3 separate regions of the Homo sapiens genome follow, and regions 1 and 3 are each linked to region 2. The links are contacts of gene promoters, found by promoter capture Hi-C in human tissues and cell types (Jung and others, 2019). All regions are on one chromosome and are shown on one strand. Each heading gives the region's core, a stretch centred on a gene start or on the middle of the fragment in contact. The rest is flanking DNA. Distances are from core to core; before and after follow the strand shown. Region 1 holds the start of PIK3R2 (phosphoinositide-3-kinase regulatory subunit 2). Region 2 holds the start of CPAMD8 (C3 and PZP like alpha-2-macroglobulin domain containing 8). Region 3 holds the start of BRD4 (bromodomain containing 4).

The links. The method cuts DNA at HindIII sites, captures the fragments that hold promoters and counts their contacts. A contact is called where the count stands out against the background at its distance.
Region 1: the fragment with the promoter of PIK3R2 here is called in contact with the fragment with the promoter of CPAMD8 in region 2 in 1 of the 25 tissues and cell types used here (heart right ventricle).
Region 3: a contact is called between the fragment with the promoter of BRD4 here and the fragment with the promoter of CPAMD8 in region 2, in 1 of the 25 tissues and cell types used here (heart left ventricle).

The regions. Positions count from the first base shown.
Region 1 is chr19:18,151,797-18,154,496 of GRCh38, forward strand. It overlaps PIK3R2 (phosphoinositide-3-kinase regulatory subunit 2), which reads left to right and starts at 1,367. Exons shown (of 16, transcript NM_005027.4): 1 at 1,367-1,498. RefSeq lists enhancers at 118-197, 740-1,632, 938-1,217 and silencers at 1,328-1,707, 2,018-2,237. The HindIII fragment of the contact is 11,749 bases long and covers 1-2,700 here.
Region 2 is chr19:17,025,499-17,028,198 of GRCh38, forward strand. CPAMD8 (C3 and PZP like alpha-2-macroglobulin domain containing 8) reads right to left here and starts at 1,312. Exons shown (of 42, transcript NM_015692.5): 1 at 1,053-1,312. The coding sequence starts at 1,144. RefSeq lists an enhancer at 1,484-2,392. The HindIII fragment of the contact is 4,679 bases long and covers 1-2,700 here.
Region 3 is chr19:15,331,214-15,333,913 of GRCh38, forward strand. BRD4 (bromodomain containing 4) reads right to left here and starts at 1,326. Exons shown (of 20, transcript NM_001379291.1): 1 at 1,077-1,326. It overlaps LOC124904643 (a long non-coding RNA gene), which reads left to right and starts at 1,400. Exons shown (of 4, transcript XR_007067146.1): 1 at 1,400-1,435. RefSeq lists silencers at 326-375, 386-535, 566-665, 866-1,095, 1,326-1,425 and 1 more and an enhancer at 1,592-2,208. The HindIII fragment of the contact is 25,776 bases long and covers 1-2,700 here.

The sequences.
Region 1 (2,700 bases), core at 117-2,616, 1.1 Mb after region 2:
TTTGAGGACTGCATAGCAGTTCGCTGTTGAGATTCTTCCTGATGCCATCGCTGGTACCAGCCTCCTGCTACCCTCTCCCTGCGAGTACTCCATCATAGCCCTGCCTTTAAAAGCTTCCTCCAGACATCTGGGCCCTGAGCTATGTTTTTTATTTTTATGTTTTTGAGACAAGGTCTCGCTCTGTAACCCAGGTTGGAGTACAGTGGCGCAATCACGGCACATTGCAGCCTCGACCTCCTGGGCGCCCTGGGCTATGTTAATAAAATAAATAAGCGGCGGGGCGCGGTGGCTCACGCCTGTAATCCCAGCACTTTGGAAGGCCAAGGCGGGCGGATCTCCTGAGGTCGGGAGTTCCAAACCACCCTGACCAACATGGAGAAACCCCGTCTCTACTAAAAATACAAAATTAGCCGGGCGTGGTGGCGCATGCCTGTAATCCCAGCTGCTCGGGAGGCTGAGGCAGGAGAATCGCTTGAACTCGGGAGGTGGAGGTTGCGGCGAGCCGAGATAGCGCCATTGCACTCCAGCCTGGGCAACAAGAGCGAAACTCCGTCTCAAAAAATAATAACAAAATAAGCAATCGTCGCGTCCTTTCTATCCTGGTCTTAGCTTGCGCTCTGCCATAAAACTCCCTCTAGCCGAACCCGGCCCAGCCCTAGAGCAATCCGTTACTTCCGGGGCGCTCAGCCGGCATGCAAACACTCTTGGCTACAGCCCCATCTCCGAGTGCGTTCGGCTATTTCCGGAAACCGTCGGCATCTAGGCTCAAGTCCGCTAAATTCTAGTGCCCGTAGGGGTCGAGATCGTTGGCTGTTTCCGGACGCTCTGGGTTGCCATGGAAACTCCTTCAACCCTGGCTTTCTCCGACTTCTGCTTTTTGCGGCAGGCCCTTTCCCCACTCTACTGCCCCCTGTTTGCTGAGCTTGAGAACGCCTCATTTGTCCCCTGGAACCATCTATGCTTCAGTAATTCCCATAAGCTGGCGGTCGCCTCTGGGTCTAAACTCCCAAGGCCTCCATTGGGCACTGAGCACATTCGGTTATTTCCAGAAACGCTCCGCGGTCTTGGGGATCAGCCTCAGTTGTGCCAGTGCGGCCGTAGAGAGTGTTCGGCCATTTCCGAAAGCGCTCGGGCGTCTCTAAGCCCAGCCGAGCCCAGTCTCGGATCCCTCGCCGACCCGATTGCACTCGGCTACCTCTGGAAACGCTCGGCTGTCTCGGGGGCACCCTCTAGTCCACCAGTCCCGCGGGATTACGTTCGGCTACTTCCGGAAACACTCGGGTGCCCCCTTACCTCAGGCTCCGCCTCGGCCTCGGTTCATCCGCCCGGCTCGAATGCGCTCGGGCATTTCCGCCGGGGGCGGGCCAGGCCGCTCGGAACCGTGGCGGCGGCGGAGGCGGGGATCCCGCGGCTGCGGCGACGGTGGCCGCGGTGGAGCCACGGGGCGGGCTTGGCTTGGTGTGACGGCGGCTGCGGCGGCGGTGGCGGCCGCGACCAGGTGAGTCCTGACTGGCCCTCGTGGCGGGGGCGGCTGGGAGTGTGCTTAAATGCGGGGCGCCCGGGGGCAGTGCCGGGCCCCGGTGGAAGCCAGAACGCAAGCGCCAGGCTGCGTCGGGCCCCGCGGGAACTGGGGGGGCCGCAGGCAAGGGGGGGCCTCGGGCTCGGCTCCGCAGCGGTGCAGCCTCCTTGGGACGGTCGGGGCAGAATGGGGAGAGACTCCCCGCGTCCAAGATACCGGACTGGAGCCGAGGCCCCAAATGAAGGGAGGCCCTGCCTGGAATGGGGCTTCGAATAGTACCGAGGGGCGCCCAGGCATTGTGCGGGGCAGAATGGGGTGCGGGAGGGCCGGGGGTCGAACCCACTTCCGGTCCCCTAGCCGGGTGGCCGGGTCCACGCAGACCCAAGTGCGCGTCTGTGTGAGCGCTCAGGCCCTGCCTTCACCCGCGGAGCCCCCAGCCCTGCCTGCCCCGCCCCTCCCGCCTCCCGGATTCGGGGAGCGCTGCTCCCGGGGCGCGCACACCGGGGCGTGGGGGCGGGCTGGCAGGCAGATCCAGGCGGTTTTCTGGGCATCCCCTCTCGGGGCCTCAGTTTCCCCACCTGTAGAATGAGGGTAACAGAGGCCTAGGAATGGGTAAATTGGGCACCCGAGAATGTGGCGCCCCTCCGCCCTGCTCGGACACCTCTTGGGGTTCCCCGTGACTGAAGGATGCTCAGAGCCTCCACCTGACACTCGGGCCTCTTGGTGGATAGCACCTATCCTTATAGCCACCCTGAATCCTTGACAAGCAACTTAACCCACTGCCAAGGCTTTGCATGTGCCGTTCCGTCTGCCTGTCGCGCCTTCCTATCCGCTGTGATGATCCATTCTCTAGAACAGCACGTCCATCCCCCGACCCTAGCCCTGTCCATCACAGGGCGTCTGAACCCGCAGGGCTAGGCTGGGAATGTGTGCCTATCTCCGCCTCCCCAGGCTGGGACTCCTGGGGAATAATCAATGCCCTGCTGCCGGCAGCCTCCCCTCCTCCTCAGCTGCAGTACCCCCACCTTCTCCTGGCTCCCTGTCCCTGCCTGGGGCTAAGGTTCCTTCTAAGCACCTCCCCATCTGCATTTTGTGCCTACTCTGGGCCCCAGGCTGGAGCTACCTGCCAGCCCACTCACTCCTCCTCTGCAGAGACTGGAGGTCCATTTGCTTGGACTCAC
Region 2 (2,700 bases), core at 62-2,561:
TCTGTCATGTGGGGCCGCGTCATTCCTTGCAGTGGAAGCTGACCTGCACATCGAAAGCTGTTTACCAGCATTCCTGGCCTGCACCCACTTAATGCCAACACCAAATGCCTCTCCCTATTTGTGACAACCAAAAATACCTCCAGACATTTCCCAGCGGCCTCAGGGAGACAAAAATCCCCCCCAGGGCTGAGAACCACTATTCTAAGGGATGCCAGCTTTGAAAGAAGCATTAGGATGAAAATTTGTAGGGTTCCGATTTCACGAAGCCTAGGAGAGGGAAGTCTGGATGCTCAGAGCGCAGTAGACTGTCTTGCTTTTAAAACTGTGACCAGCAAGGACCAACTACTCACTGCAAATAACGACACCCACCTAGTCTCACTGCTTACCAGTTTTCTGGAAACTCCTAAACAAGGGCTGCTTGAACAAGCCGCCTTCTAAACGCCCAGCTGGACTAAAAGGCTGGTCTTGTGCAGACCAGGGCAGCCCCCCTGAACCCGCAGCCCTGCAGAGCTCACCCGAACTTGCCAGGTTTAGAAATATTCTCTGTGAAGCCAACTTAGCAGTACTCCCCAGCAGTTAGTTAATTCACCTTCTCCCCGCTGTCAACCCACCAGAAGCCTGCAAGCAAACCTCTAGAAAAATGTAGAAGCAAAACAAACACTTCCTCCTCCCTCACCACGCCCACCCACGGGAAAGTGCCCCTTCGCACTCTCCTCCCACTTCTCAGCCAAGACGCTCCTCTTACCTTCATACCTTGGACAACTGGAAATCGCCACCCATGATGACAGCCCGGGTCACACGAAGGGGGCGAGGTGGGGCGGGGGGAGCTGACCTCAGCACCTTTAGCTTTTGGGAGTCCCTGTACCTCCACAGAGCCACTTCGGAAACTTTAGGGCGCCCCCTCCTCAAGACGATTCGGGAACAAGAGGCCAGGTCCAGCCCAGCGCGGAGGCTGTGTGGCCTTGGGCAGGTCGCTGCAACACTCTGAGCCAGTACCCGCGACCCCCACCCCAGAAGGCGACCGACCTCCTCTGTCGCCGGAGGATACTCACGGGGCCTGAGGCTGCGCGGCGCGCACGCCGTCCCGCGCCGACAGCAGCAGGAGCAGGAGCGGGAGCAACGGCCAGAGCAGGGCGCCGCTCATTTTTCGGCTCCTGGGGGGCGCCGCGCCTGGGGAGGGGGCCGGGCCAGGGCTGGGCCAGGGCCAGGGTCCGAGCGCGGCCGTCCTCGCGCCGCCGCCGGGGGCCCTTTGTTCGCAGCCCCCGCGCAGTGCGCCCGGCGCCATGCGCCCCGCTCCGCGCCCGGCCAAGCTGGGGCAGCCCCGGGCCAGCCCCCTCCCCGGACCCGCCTCGTCTCCGGGACCGCCCCGCTCGCCCCGCTCGCCCCGCTCCTGGGCGCACCCTCCCGGGACGCCTGCTCCGCCCATCTCCGGACCCCGACCCGCCCCGATCCCTTCCGGGGATCGTCCCCTCACTTACTCACCGGACCCACCCGGGCCCTGCCCGATTCCTTCCGAACCCGCCTCCTCACCCCCTACCCGGATTCGCCCCCGGATGCCCCCCTCCCCACCAGCCCCGCCTCGGACCCGACCCCCCACCGCCCCCACTCTCCCTCTCCTCTCCACCCAGCGTCCACTCGGAACCTGTCCCTTCCCTGGCCTCTCCCTCCCTCCCTCCCCAGCCAGCCCCTTATGGCCCCCTCCCCGGGCCCGCCCCTCACCAGGGGCCCCTGGGTCTGGACGCCGCCTGCAACCCCGATCCCACAGGCGCCGCCGTGCCCTAAGCCCTGGCCTGTATCTAGTGCCCAGTGCAGTGCGTACAGCCCAAGGAGCAGAGGACCCTTTGGGGAAACAGTCTAGCCAGGGGTCGAACCTCCCAGACTCACATCTGCCCCAGGTCCCTATCTGTGCTCTCTGCTCCCCTCTCCCCCACCCCCACTGTCCACAAATCCCTTGGGCCCGTCCCCTCTCTCGCTGGGCCTCAGAGTCCCCCTTTCCCCTTCATACAGCAGGGGTGGATGGGCACCCCCTTTCTCTCCAAGAGCAGGGTGTCCCCTCCTGCCCCTCCCCGTGTGGCCACCTCAGTGATGGTCCTGCTGTCCTAGGTCCCACTGGCAGGCGGCACATCCTATACCATGTCCAAGTCCTGGACCCCCTCCTTCCAGTGTGGAACCCCCTTCCCCCAGCTACCAACTGCCCTTCTTCTAAAATTCCAGTGCTGACCACACCCCCTCCTGCCCGGAATCCTCGGGGCTCCCTGTTTATTTTACATTTTATTTTTATGTTTTGAGACCAGAGTTTTGCTCTGTTGCCCAGGCAGGAATTTAGTGGTGCAGTCACAGCTCACTGCAGCTTCAGACTCCTGGAGAGTAGCTGGGACTACAGGTGCAAGCCCGCACCCAGCTAATTTTTATATATTTTTTTTTAGAAACGGAGTCGCACTGTGTTGCCCAGGCTGGTCTTGAGCACTGGGCTCAAATGATCCTCCCTCCTCAGCCTCCCAAAGTGCTGGGATTACAGGTGTGAGCCACCACATCCAGCCAGGGCTTCCCGTTTATTGAGACCAAATCTAAACTCTGGCTTTGATGGCAGAGACCTCAGCCTAGTTCCTCCAACACCCTGTTCTTACTCCACTGCCTGCTTCTGCCTAATCTCTGTCTTCCTCTACCTGCCTCCTTTGCCAGTCCAACTCCTGATCCTTC
Region 3 (2,700 bases), core at 76-2,575, 1.7 Mb before region 2:
GCACATGACTCATGCACCGGCCTGAACTAAAGTATTTACACCGTCCACTACAACAGAGTGGGGTTTCCCATCTTCAAGCAAACCCAAGCCTTGGGGGCATCTCAGCCGAGTGAAGCCATGCTATTTCCGTTTGGGAGGAGGGGGATCATTTTATTTCGCTGAATCACAACTCCCCCACATCCCCACCCCAAATCACCACAATCACCACCACCACACAACACTGCAAATAAAATAGGCCGTTGCAAGGACGCCGGCGAGCACGGACCGAGCAAAACAAAGCGCCCAGCAAGGGGCTGCCAGGCTGAGAGTGGGTGCGTCAAGCGGGCCAAGCTCGCCTCCAGGGCACCGCTCCCGCCCTGAGGCCTGGCCTCAGACCGGCGTGCAGCCGCAGCCACCTCCCTCCGCAGGGGACCTGCCCCTTTCTCCGCAGCACTCCGGGGACCGCCGGGAAGGTGAAGAGATGGGGGTGGGGGCGCGCTGCCCCGGCCCAGGCAAAACGACCTGGGTGCCAGAAGGAGAGCGCGCCGGCCCCGGCCCACGTGAGCGCCGCGGCCGAGCCCGCCTAGAGGACCGCGGACCGGGACAGCTGCGCTCGCGGCCCCCGCGCCAGGCCGGGACTTACCCGGGCCGGGCGCGCCGCGGACCCCGCGGCGGCCGCTTCCTCCTCCTCCTCCTCCTCCTCACTTAACAAAATGGCGGCGGCAGGAAGTGCCGGGCGCCTCGGCCCGCCCCCCGCCCGCCCCCGACCGCCGGCCCCGCCGCGGCGCCCGCGCCCCCCACCCGCGCCCCGCCGGCCAGCCCAAGCCCGGGTCCGACGGCACCAAAGGCAGGACAGCCGCGAGCGACCCCGCCGCCCCGACACCAACGGCGCAGGCCGCCCCGGCCCGGAACGAACGGCGCGGGAGGCCCGCAGGCCCGAGCCCGCGTAGCCCCGGCCTCCCCGCCCCCGCGCCGCGCGGATGGCGTAGGTGGCGGCGCCCCGGCCCCATTACGCAATGCAGGTTACGCGGACCGCGCCGCGAGCCTCCGCCAGCCGCCCAGTGTCGTCCGCCGCCCCAAAGGGCACCAGTCCTCACCTGAGACGCTAGGCCGCACGCCGCCCCCGCCGGCCGTCCGCCCGCTGCCGCCGCCCCCTCCCCGAGCTGCCTGCGCGGCGCCGGGGCCCGCCCGCCGCTCTGCCGAGCTCACAGGCCGCGCTCGCCCGCGGGCACCGCCGGCAGCCGCCGCAGCCGCTGCCGCCGCCACTGCTTCGGCTCCTCGGCTGCGGGAGACCAGAACAAACAGCCCAGCCGCCGCCGCCGCCGCCGCCGCCGCCGCCAGCGCACTGACGTCACCGCGCACGCTGCGCGCGCGGCCCCGCGCCGCCGCCGCCCGGTGTGCGCGCCCCGCCCCCGCGCCCAGCGCGAACGAGCTCTGGAGAGACAGTGGCTGCGAGGTGAGTGGGGGATACCGCGGACTGAGGGAGGAGACCCCGCAGAGCGAAGGAGCGGGCTGGGGGAAACGGGCGGACTGCAGGCTGGGCCTGCGGGAAAAGATCTGAAGGCTGAGAGAGACATCCAAAATACTAAGAAAGGTCTGAAGACAGACCCTCACAGGGAGGGAGGATGGTGAGGAGGGACCCCACAGACTGATGGAGGAGGCGGAGGAGAGAGCCCTAAGGGGGGACCCCAGGTAGGGAGGCTGAGGCGAGAGAGCTGCGATGGGGGCGCCGGGGCTGGGGTGAAGTGGAGGAAAGGAGGTGAGAGGAGGCTGCGAGCAAGGCCGAGGCGGATCCTCCTTGGCTGCCCCTGGGCAGGGAGGTAGCACCTTTCTCCTCTTATGCCCCCCTGTTGATCTTCTTCCAACCCACCTTTTTAAAAAAAGGGACATGGTCTTGCTCTGTCCCCCAGGCTGGAGTGCAGTAGTGCAGTCATAGCTCACTGCAGCCTCAACCTGCTGGCCTCAAGCGATCCTCCTGCTTCAGCCTCCCAAGTAGCTGGGACTACAGGTGTGCACCACCACACCCAGCTAACTATTTTTTGTAGAGATGGGATCTCACGATGTTGGCCAGGCTGGTCTCTGTCTCCTGGACTCAAGCGATCCTCCTGCCTCGACCTCCCAAAGTGCTAGTATTACAGGCGTGAGCCACCGCGCCCAGCTCCTTCCCATCCTTAAGACTCAACCCCAAGTCAGACCAGGCTCGGTGGCTCACACCTGTAATCTCAGCACTTTGGGAGGCAGAGGCAGGAGGTTGGCTTGAGGCCAGGGGTTGGAGACCATCCTAGCCAACAGAGTGAAACCTCGCCTCTACTAAAAATACAAAAATTAGCCCCGTGTGGGCCGGGCGCAGTGGCTCACGCCTGTAATCCCAGCACTTTGGGAGGCGGGCAGATCACGAGGTAAGGAGATCGAGACCATCCTGGCTAAGACGGTGAAACCCCGTCTCTACTAAAAATACAAAAAATTAGCCGGGTGTGGTGGTGGGCGCCTGTAGTCCCAGCTACTCGAGAGACTGAGGCAGGAGAATGGCGTGAACCCGGGAGGCGGAGCTTGCTGTGAGCGGAGATCGCGCCCCTGCACTCCAGCCTGTGCGACAGAGCGAGACTCCGTCTCAAAAAAAAAAAAAAAAAATTAGCCGGGTGTGGTGGCGCATGCCTGTAATCCCATGCCTGTAATGCCAGCTACTCAGGAGGCTAAGGCAGAAGAATCACTTGAACCCGG